3 separate regions of the Homo sapiens genome follow, and regions 2 and 3 are each linked to region 1. Evidence: promoter capture Hi-C in human tissues and cell types (Jung and others, 2019). All regions are on one chromosome and are shown on one strand. The core of a region is centred on a gene start or on the middle of the fragment in contact, and the rest is flanking DNA. Distances in the headings are between cores, read along the strand shown.

Region 1 (3,534 bases), core at 48-2,547:
CTATAATAGGTTTCTTTTTAGAGAAGCCAAAATCATAAACTTACATTACACATACCTGTGTACTTATAGCTGGGAGTACCTATGTACTCCCAATCCCTTTTTTTCCCAACCACATTCCATTCTCAAGGCATTTATGATGATAGTGAGAGACTAGTCCAAAGAAGTGACACTAGATGGGAAGGTCAAACAATTAAAAAAAAGGGAGGTGATAGAATGAGAAATTGATTCAATCACATTAATAGAGAAAGTCTCAGGAAAGACAAACTGAGAAGAGGCTATGGGAAGAAATGGACTTTCCTATTTGCTATTAGGATCTCATGTCCATCCTTCTCTACCTGCCTTTGCATCCTGGGAGGAGACATGTCTGTGCCTCGTCAATGGGCTGTCTTTCACTCAGGCTCCAAAGGGTACACATTGACAGGAGATTGGAGGGTGACTTTTTTTTTCAGCCAAAGGGACACATTGACAGTAGATTGGGGGATGATTTTTTAAAAATTTCCTGGCTCTCTCCCTGCGCCCTGAAGGGCTGTGAGTTGGCAGTGGCAGTGTTTTTCTACCTAAGGACATAGCCCTGCCTGGTGGCCCTTTCCTGTAGCCACAGCTATAGTTACAGTTACAGTTACCGCTACAGCACATTCTGAGTTCTCAGAACTTCTCTTTCTCCTTATCACTTCAGACCTAGCAACGGTAACAGCCCTCCACTATCACTTGCCTTTGAGGGCTTCATCATTCCTTAATCCCTGTTCACGCCGTTGTAAACAGTCTCTTCACTAAACTCCTCTAAACTACCCCTTTAGAGTGTGTGATGTGTGTTTTCTGCTGGGACAATGACAGATATGAAGGAAAAACCTTTTGAATAACAAGAAAATCAGTGCAACCTGAGGTTTTAAATAACAATTTAGCTTAGGGAAGTAATGACTTCATTCTAGCCTGCCCCTAAATTAAAATCAGCAAAATCTTTCTCTCCATAGTTTCAGATTTGAATGGTCGAAGAGAAGGGGAGAATATTGGTAGATAGAAGAGAAGTGGGACGAACCTGCTTGACCCCATTCGGATCTCCCAGCATCTAAGCTGCCAGCATCCAAAGCTTCCTCAAAGGAGCTTCCTGTCTTCTTTTCCTAATGAATTCATCAGGATGTGGACTAAGGTAAAAACCAAAACTGCCTTTGAAAGAAGATGGTTCTTGAACAAACTCTTACCTTAACACCCTTCTTTCTACTGGAGTTGGTGAGTTGAGAAGTGCTTTCCTGGGACTGGCAAACAGCTGAGGATGGGGAGATGCCTGCAGGATCTGGAGTGAAACCTGATGACTGAGTGAAGCTTATCAAGATGCTCAACAACCCTGTGATTTCCTGTACAGAGGGTGCTGGAAAATAAGAGTATGACACAGGAAACCACATGAGATGTTTCTCAGCATTTGCCCTGACTCCAATCACTTATCTTGGTTTCTCCCCTACCCTCTCCGGCCCCACTCCCTGCAAGGAATCACCGTCCTGAAGTCTTTCATTGCCCACAATGAGCATCCAGGAAGCAGACCAATCAAGCGACGTGAGCTTTCATAGCTAAAGAATAGTCTGCCCTCTTCTGCTTGGCATTCAAGGCCCTGGCTTACTTGACCTTTCAAAATCAGGTTTATTTCAAATGACACTAAGGTGTATAAAATGAAATGCAAAGTCTCTCGAAGTCTCATTCCCCAAAAGCAACCACTGCATACAGTTTCCATTCTTTTTTTTAAAAAAGCTTTGCGTAATAAAACAACATTTCTATTTTTGATTTATCGATGTTAACAACTAGATATATTGAGTCTCCTTATAAAATATAGGGGACTTAGCACATCACATGCACCATCTGTCACGTTTCTCCCTCTACATCATGATATTTATTAGCTAGATTATTTTTAGATCATCTAGAGCCAACCAATATTTTCAGCCTTATCTCCTATGACTTCCTTTCATGTGCCTATGCTGCAGCCAAATTGAGTTATAAGTAACAATTATGAAGCATTTAAGACAATCAGAAGAAATTATTCACTCATTTATTCATTCATTCAACACTGTTTATTGTTTGCCTATGATATGTCAGGTACCGTTCCAGGCAATGAAGACACAATGATGAACACCATACAAGATCATGCCCCTTTGCATTCCAGAGCAGCTGGGTGACCTCAGACAGGGAACATGTGTTGATTGAGGCGAGTTCTGAGACTCAGCATTTTCTTGTATTATACTTTGGTGCAGTGGGTAAACCATGCATTTGTCCCCAGAAATCTGCTTTCCTCATGAGCAGCAGCAGGACCTTAGAAAGCTTTAACTTCTGTTACTGTCTAACCTACTGTGCTCTATTATTTGATTTTGATTCTGTTTCCCTCCAACAAATGAAACACTTATTATTGTTTTAAATAGTCAGTGTTTATTCAGATTTATCCACATAATCACCAATGCTTTTGCTCATCCTCCCATTTTACATCTCATATCTTCCATTTCTCAAAACACATTCTTCAGGAGTTCCTTCTGTGAGAGTCTCTGCATGGTAAATGCCTCCTTTTATCTATCTGAAAATGTCATTGTTTCACCCTCGTCTTCTAAAGATGGTTTTTCCAGGCATGGCATTGTAGGGTGATAGTTTCTTTCTTCCAGCACATTGAAGATCCATGTTCTGACTGCCAGGGTTACTGTTGCGGCCATCAGTCAGGTTGCCATTTGCTTGTGGTGATCTGCCTTTTTTTCCTCTAAGAGCTTTTATTTTTCTCTGCTATGATACATTCTCACCAAATTGTATCTGGTGACTCTTTTTCAAATCATGTTTGGGATTTGTGGAGTTTCCTAGATTTTAAAATTATCATCATTTAACATTTTTAAACAATTTAATGCTATAATCTCTTTAAATATTAACATAACGGTGAAGAACACAAGACCAGGCTACTTGGCATTTCTCCTATGGGACCTTAGCCAGATTTTGTAACTCTGTTATGTTTGTTTCCTCATCAGTAAAATGGGGATAACATTATTAATCTATAGGTTTGCTGTGAAGATTAATAATTTAATGTATATAAATGATTTACAATAGGAGCACATAGTAAGTACTATAAAATTATTAGCTCTCATTATCACTTTTAGTATTATCTCTTTCTGGAAGTCTAATTCAACATATGTTAGCCCTCTTCTTCTATCATCCTTATTTCTTTAACCTTTTCCTTATGTCTCGTCTCTGTCTCTGAGGCTGCTTTCTGGGTAATTTCTTCAGATGTATCTTCCAGTTAACTAGATTCTTTCCATTGTGTCTAATCATCTGTTTAATCTATCCACTGAAGTTTAAATCCAATTTTTATATTACTAATTTCTAGAAGTTCTATTTTATTTTTTTAAAATTATACTTTAAGTTATGCGATACATGGGCAGAACGTGCAGGTTTGTTACCTACGTATACACATGCCGTGGTGGTTTGCTGCATCCATCAACCCGTCATCTACATTAGGTATTTCTCCTAGTGCTATCCCTCTCCTAGCTCCCCACCCCCTGAGAGGCCCCAGTGTGT
Region 2 (3,430 bases), core at 832-3,331, 46 kb after region 1:
TTCCAGAGGAAGTGCTATTTGCCAGGGCAGGATGTGGGGGTGTAAGTGGGAGAACTGGATCGAGTAGAACTAGTTACTACCCTGGCTAGCTCTCTGGTATACCCAGGAGGTAAAGTTCAAAGAAGGTGGCCACTTTTTTTTAAGGTCACATGATGAGTTAGCCAACCTGGAAACGAAATCCACAGTGCTAATTCCTTAAGCCAAGCCCTGTAACTCTCAAGTTTTCTAATTAAAGAAATTCCTTCTAATTTGTCAGTGGATGATGAAGAAATCATACTTTATTCCTGTTATTCCTTCCAGGAGTATCTCTGACCCCCTGGAATTAAAATACCATAGCCTTGAAAAAACAGAAAAAAGAAATTCCCGATAGTCAAAGTATGTGTATAACCTGCCCAGGGACTGACTGGTACAGATGCATGAAGCTCACCTCCTTTGCCTCAAGAAATGGCAAACTCTATGGTGCAGTTTACAATCCAGAGCTTCCAGTGGCATCAGACTGAGAGGATTTGGCCTGAAATCACATCCCTTTTTTTTGGTTTTTCCCCCTTCCCTGTATTAGTCATGATTCTACAGAAAAACAGAACCAACAGGAAAGATAACAGATTTATTTTCAGAAATTTGTTCATGCAATTGTCAGGACTGGCAAGTCTGAAAGCCATAGGGTAAGTCAGTGGGCTGGAGGCTGAATGTTCGGGTAAGAGTTGATGTTGCAGTCTTGAATATGAATGCTGGAATTTCTATGGTGCCCTCTGAAGGCAGAATTCATTTTTCTCTGGGAAACCTCAGCCTTTGCTGTTAAGGCGGTTGGCTGATTGGATGAGGCCCATCCACACCATATAAAGTAATCTGCTTCACTTTAAGTCGACTGGTTTTAAACATTGACTAAGTCTCAACTAGTGTTTGACCAGGCAGCTGGTCACCATAATGTAGCCAAAGTGACATAAAATTAACCATCCCATTTCCTCACTTCCTAGCAGGTGTTCCTGAGAGCACTTCCTTAATAAGGCGTTTGCATAATAATCCTCATCTGGTGCTCAGCTTCTAGGGAGTCTGCACTGAGACAAATGGTGCTTGGTATCCTTGTTTGTACCTTGCTTGCCTATAGGCTTGCTTTTGTATTATCTCTCATTCTCTCCAGAAGCAAGCCATTGGGGAGTGGATTTTTGTCTGTCTTGCTTACTACTATTCCTCCAGTCCCTAGAATGAGACCTAGCACATTGCACACGGGCTGTCTTTTGCCTGATTGCTCTCAAATTTCATTTCCACTGCTTTGTTCTGCTATGGGTTTTAAGGAGGCTTGGACACTGGAATTACATTCCCTGGATTCTCTTGCCAATCGGCTTTCAGATAGAAAGCCAGTGAGGCCTTCTATAAGCCTAATAAGGCACTGGTGGGAAATTGGAAGACAAGAGGAAGAGAGAAGAGGCTCTTTTCCTGCTTCAGACTTCTGTTAGCAACCTTCCAACAGGCACGGAGAACAACGGGTGTTTTGGGCACTTCTAGCACCCACTAATGGAGCTACTTCCTCAGAGCCTAAGCAGCTCTCCAATCAGCGTGCACAGTGCCCACCATGGTCTTGGCACCAGCCACCTGTGGTCAAAGCACCAGCCCAGGCCTCCCCATCTCCTGGGTTCTAGATCTGGTAACAACACCTCTACTCTTTTGTTCCCACAACCTTAGGAATGGAAGCTTCTTTTGGCAGTTACTAAGCTCTGAGTCCATTTAAAATCGCTCTTTGCTCTCTCAACCCTTCCAACACTGTGTAAGCACTTTCTTATGTTAAATTCCCGCATTTAAAATATCTAGAGAGATATGTGTTCTCATGACTGGACCCTGTGAACCCTGGCTGATATTTAGGCTCTCAATAAATACTTGTTGAATACGCAGAATTTAGCCCCAAGTTTATATTCTTAGAATTCATAGTTCAAAAGAAAGAAACTTGGCTTTTACAGCATCAATAGATCAAATTATATGAAAGTACTCTTATTGGCCCTGTTTTGGGCACATGCTCCCCCCCACCTCACCCCGACAATCCCCCTGGGCAAAATGATGGTGTACCTTGATTGGTCAGGCCTGGCTCAGGGACTCAGCCCTATGGCTCATAGCAGGCAGGATACTGAAATTGACAATCCCACCTAAACCACTTAGGGTAAGGGAGAGGCACTTCCCCAGTGGAAGATGGGCAGACAAAAAAGAAATTTTCCTACCACAATGAACTTATAGTCTTGGGGGATATGATTTAAAAATTGTCCTAATATAATGTGGTAAAGCACCAGGTGTTCTGGGAGCAGGGGGGAGCATTTATTCTACAAAGTCCTTTCATATACATGAAACAATTTGTTCCTCACAATGCCAACCACTATGAAGTTGGCATCCTCATCCTCACTATATAGAATCTTTGGCCTCCTATGATCTGTCTCTTCTCTTTTTGACTTCAAGTCCCTCTTTGTCAAGCTCCCTTAGCCAGGCCACCCCACCCTCAGCTTTCTTTTCATTCCCAGATATCTCAACCTCATTCCTTTTTTTAATGTAGAATTCTTCTGACTTGATGGCAAATAAGTTGTCCTTGGTCCCATAACAATATTGGCACCTATCACTATACAAAACACCCACCCTAAGGCAAACACCATACCATATGCTTTACACACATTCTCTCATTTAGTCTTCTTAACAGCCTTACAAAATAGTAGTAGAATTGCAGAAAGATTGTGTGACTTAGCCAAGGCTACTTGGCAAGAGCTGGGATATAAAGCTAGCTCTGTCTGGCTCCCACAACAGCAGCATCTCCTCCACTTGGTTTCCACACCAACTGAGGGATGGTTGAAAGAGCTGGGGATGTTTAATCAGGGGGACAACACACTTAGGGGTACCATTATCCATTCAAGTATCTAATGGGCGGTGAAGTAGAAGAGAGAATTCACTGGAATTTTTGTGGCGCCATAACCAAGGAAAAAGGACCGATTATAAACATAAAAGTGAGGGATAGTTGGCCGGGCGCGGTGCCTCACGCCTGTAATCCCAGCACTTTGGGAGGCCGAGGCAGGCGGATCACGAGATCAGGAGATCGAGACCATCCTGGCTAACACGGTGAAATGCCGTCTCTACTAAAAATACAAAAAAATTTAGCCGGGGGTGGTGGCGGGCGCCTGTAGTCCCAGCTACTTGGGAGGCTGAGGCAGGAGAATGGCGTGAACCCGGGAGGCGGAGCTTGCAGTGAGCTGAAATCGCACCACTGTACTCCAGCCTGGGAGACAGCGAGACTCCGTCTCAAAAAAAAAAAAAAAAAAAAAAGTGAGGGATACTTCTGTCCAATGTAACCAGTATGATAGAAGGTAGTGAGTATCCCACCACTGTGGGTATTCAAGGAGATAGTGCCAACAGCTTTTAAGGGATGTGGGAGAGTGAGAGAACTCTGACTCAGGGAGCATAT
Region 3 (3,325 bases), core at 483-2,982, 63 kb after region 1:
GGGGTACTGACTTGTCAGATTGGATTAGATCATCTTTGTTTATACTTCATGTGTCTGATAAAGAGTTCCTGATCTGCTATTTTCTTATTTGCTTGTGCTTATTATTATTATTATTATTACCTCAATTCATGGCTTCTTTGTAGAAATCAGCTTAAGCTACTTGCTCATTTTGGGAGAGGTAATTTAGTTAAAATTTAACAATATAATTTGAAAATAATCTAATATATATTGTAAAATGCTGAAGGTCCTACTGTCAACTCTCTGTTTGTGGAAGCTTTCTCTGCCCTTAGGTTACCTTGTAAACAGAGTATAAGGAGTGACCTGCTTGGCATATCAATAAATGAGACTGCCATCGTTAAAAATTAGTAAAGCTTTCCTGCCAGCAGAGGTGTGCTAAAAAGAAAAAATAAATTTGGTAAAGCTTTAAAAACTCAAATTTGTAAATTTTATTTTTCCTTTTTAAGTAAAAAGATAAAAAATTATTATAATAGAAGCTTTAACATTTTCTCACATTACCTAGTGGGTCACTGCATATATGGCTTTGAGTGTACTTTCCTCACTTTGTAGATGATTGACTTCAAACACAAGCTTTGAATATAGTCATTTTTAGGTTTTACTTTGATCTGCATGCGGGTAAACAATGATGACATGAACGGAAGATATCTTCTGTTTTCTAGTTTCTTAAAGTTGCCATTTAATCATATATAATCACATATTGCCTGCTATTATTATTTCACTCTGTCTCTGACATATCTCCCTTATTAGACTTAAATTCCTGGAGGATAGACACCCATGTCTTATATGCCCTTAGCGTAATTGTACATCATAAATACACAGTAATTAATTGCCGACTAAACAAATATTCTCAATTGTGGATATTCTTCACATTAAAACATGTAAACCTCCTCAACTTTATACATGAAAAATAAAGCTGATGTCCTTAATGCCTTAAAATAGTATAAGAAGCAACAAATTTGTATCTAGAATGAGTCAGTTTTCTGTGATGAAAAATCTGTGTATAAACAAAGGGTCAGGGTGGGGTGTGGTGGCTCATGCCTGTAACCCTAGTGCTTTGGGAGGCCAAGACGGAAGGATAACTTGAGGTCAGGAGTTTAAGACCAGTCTGGGCAACATAACGAGACCAGTCTGGGCAACATAACGAGACCTATCTACAGAAGAATAAAAAAATCAGCAGGGTGTGGTAGTGCTTGCTTATAGTCCTACCTACTACGGTGGGTCAGGTGGTAGAATCACTTGAGCCCAGCAGATAGGGCTGTAGTGAGATTTGATGGTGCCACTGCACTCCAGCCTGGGTGACGGAGTAATACCCCATCTCAAAAACAAAACAAAAAAGGCTTAATCTTTCTAACCTACAAAGAGAAACAGATATGTGCAATTCATTAGAAAAACAAGTAGACTATGAAAAGGCAATCCACAAAAGAGAAAATATGGAGAGCCAGTATACCTAACAACAACAACAACAACAAACAAAACACTCAGACTCATTAGCAACTAGGGGAGTACAGGTGAAAGATAGGATGCCATTTTTAGCCATCAAAGTGTCAAGGTTGTAAAAAGATTGATAATATTCAGTTCTGGGAAGGTTTGTAGGGAGAAAGAACACGTATATACTTTGCTATTGGGACTGTGAATTGGGGAGAGTATTTGGTCAGAATCTATTTATGTTTAAAATGCACGTTTTTTGACTCAACAGTCCTACTTTGAGGAATCAATCCTATAGAATTAGAATGCCCAGGGTGTTGATTGTGTATAGATATGAAAGGCTGAAATCAACCTGTGTCTCTAACCAAAGGGGAGTGTTGAATGAATTATACTAGATCTATATACAATGGAACAATAGTGAAATATTACTGAACTGCAGGACTGTACATGATATATTGTTACATGAGAAAAGCAAGTTGAAGAATAATGTATATAATGTGATACTATTCTTTGTTCAATAAGTATAAGAAGAAAATGATTAAAAATGTGGATGTATGTATGTATATAGCACAATATTATATATGTTAAAATATATATACATAATGAGGGAAGATGCACCCAATTGTTAATAATGGTTATCTCTGGTGGTACAGTATTGAAGAGGAAAGAGTCCGGATTGTTAACCCTGTATTCACTTCTGTATTGCTAGATCTTTAAAATTAATATGTTATCATTTTATGGTTTTAAAATTCTAGTAAAAATTTTTTATATAAAAATACACTGATTTTTTTTGTCAATCTTAGCTGCACTTTTTGTTATACCTGTTACTTATTGAGATTCTAGAAATTTTTAGTATAGTTCAACTCTTTTCCTCAACCCTTTGCCTTCTTCCAATTGAATATAATTACTGTGATATCAGGAAAAGCATCCTAAAGTAATGTTTTTATTTACATTTTAATCTAACTACCTACATGTTTATTTTTAGCTGTGTGTGATTCTGCGTGTGTGTGGGGGGGTACTGATTATTTACCAGATAAATCAGAATTTACCTATTCAGAAAAGCAGGTGGACTGAAGAAGAAAAAGACCGGAATTCAAAAACCACCAAATCAGTAGCTGATTTACCTTTTTTCTCTCTGATTTGCCCCCAGCCTTGACTTGAGCCCTGGAAATAAGCATCAGTGCAGACGAGTGCTCTATGAGAAGCTATCTAGTTAAAGCTCAAGGAGCCACAAAGGGATTTCCTGGCAGCACAGTCACCAGAAACACTGAGGGAGAACTCTCTGAACAGAGGAATTGTGACCCCAAGACAGTAGTTTTTAGACGTGACACCAAAAGCACAATCCATAAAAGAACAAATTGATAAATTGGACTTTTTTAAAATTTAAAACTTCTGCTCTATGAAACAGACTTTTAAGAGATGGGAAGGTAAGGTACAGACCAGGAGAAAATATCTGCAAATCACATATCTGACAAAAGACTTGTATCTAGAATATATAATATAAAGAACTCTCAAAACTTAACAGTAAGAAAACAAACAGCTCAATTAAAAAATGGACAAAAGACTTGAACAGACACTTCACCAGAGAAGATATACAGGTGGCAAATAAGCATGTGAAAAGATGCTCAACTTCATTAGCCGTTAAGGATATGCAAATTAAGACCATGATGAGATGCCCCTATACATCTATTAGACTGACAATCCCAAGTGCTGGTGAGAATGCAGAACAATTGTAACTCTCATAGTTGTTAGTGGCAATGCAAGGTGATATAGCCAGTCTGGAAAATAGTTTAGCAGTTTCTCATAAATTTAAATATACCTAACATATGGCCAAGCAGTCTTATTCTTAGAGAAATGAAAGGATGTTCACACAAAAGTTTGT

Evidence for each region. The method cuts DNA at HindIII sites, captures the fragments that hold promoters and counts their contacts. A contact is called where the count stands out against the background at its distance.
Region 2: a fragment that was not itself captured here is called in contact with the fragment with the promoter of MRGPRX2 in region 1 in 1 of the 25 tissues and cell types used here (neural progenitor cells).
Region 3: a contact is called between a fragment that was not itself captured here and the fragment with the promoter of MRGPRX2 in region 1, in 1 of the 25 tissues and cell types used here (psoas muscle).

The regions. Positions count from the first base shown.
Region 1 is chr11:19,059,420-19,062,953 of GRCh38, forward strand. It overlaps MRGPRX2 (MAS related GPR family member X2), which reads right to left and starts at 1,298. Exons shown (of 2, transcript NM_054030.4): 1 at 1,200-1,298. The HindIII fragment of the contact is 5,022 bases long and covers 1-1,530 here.
Region 2 is chr11:19,104,623-19,108,052 of GRCh38, forward strand. No RefSeq gene overlaps it. Among named protein-coding and RNA genes, the nearest start is that of ZDHHC13, 11 kb to the right of the region's middle. The HindIII fragment of the contact is 5,134 bases long and covers 1-3,430 here.
Region 3 is chr11:19,122,311-19,125,635 of GRCh38, forward strand. The region is part of intron 1 of ZDHHC13 (zDHHC palmitoyltransferase 13); the gene reads left to right. Among named protein-coding and RNA genes, the nearest start is that of ZDHHC13, 6.8 kb to the left of the region's middle. The HindIII fragment of the contact is 5,447 bases long and covers 1-3,325 here.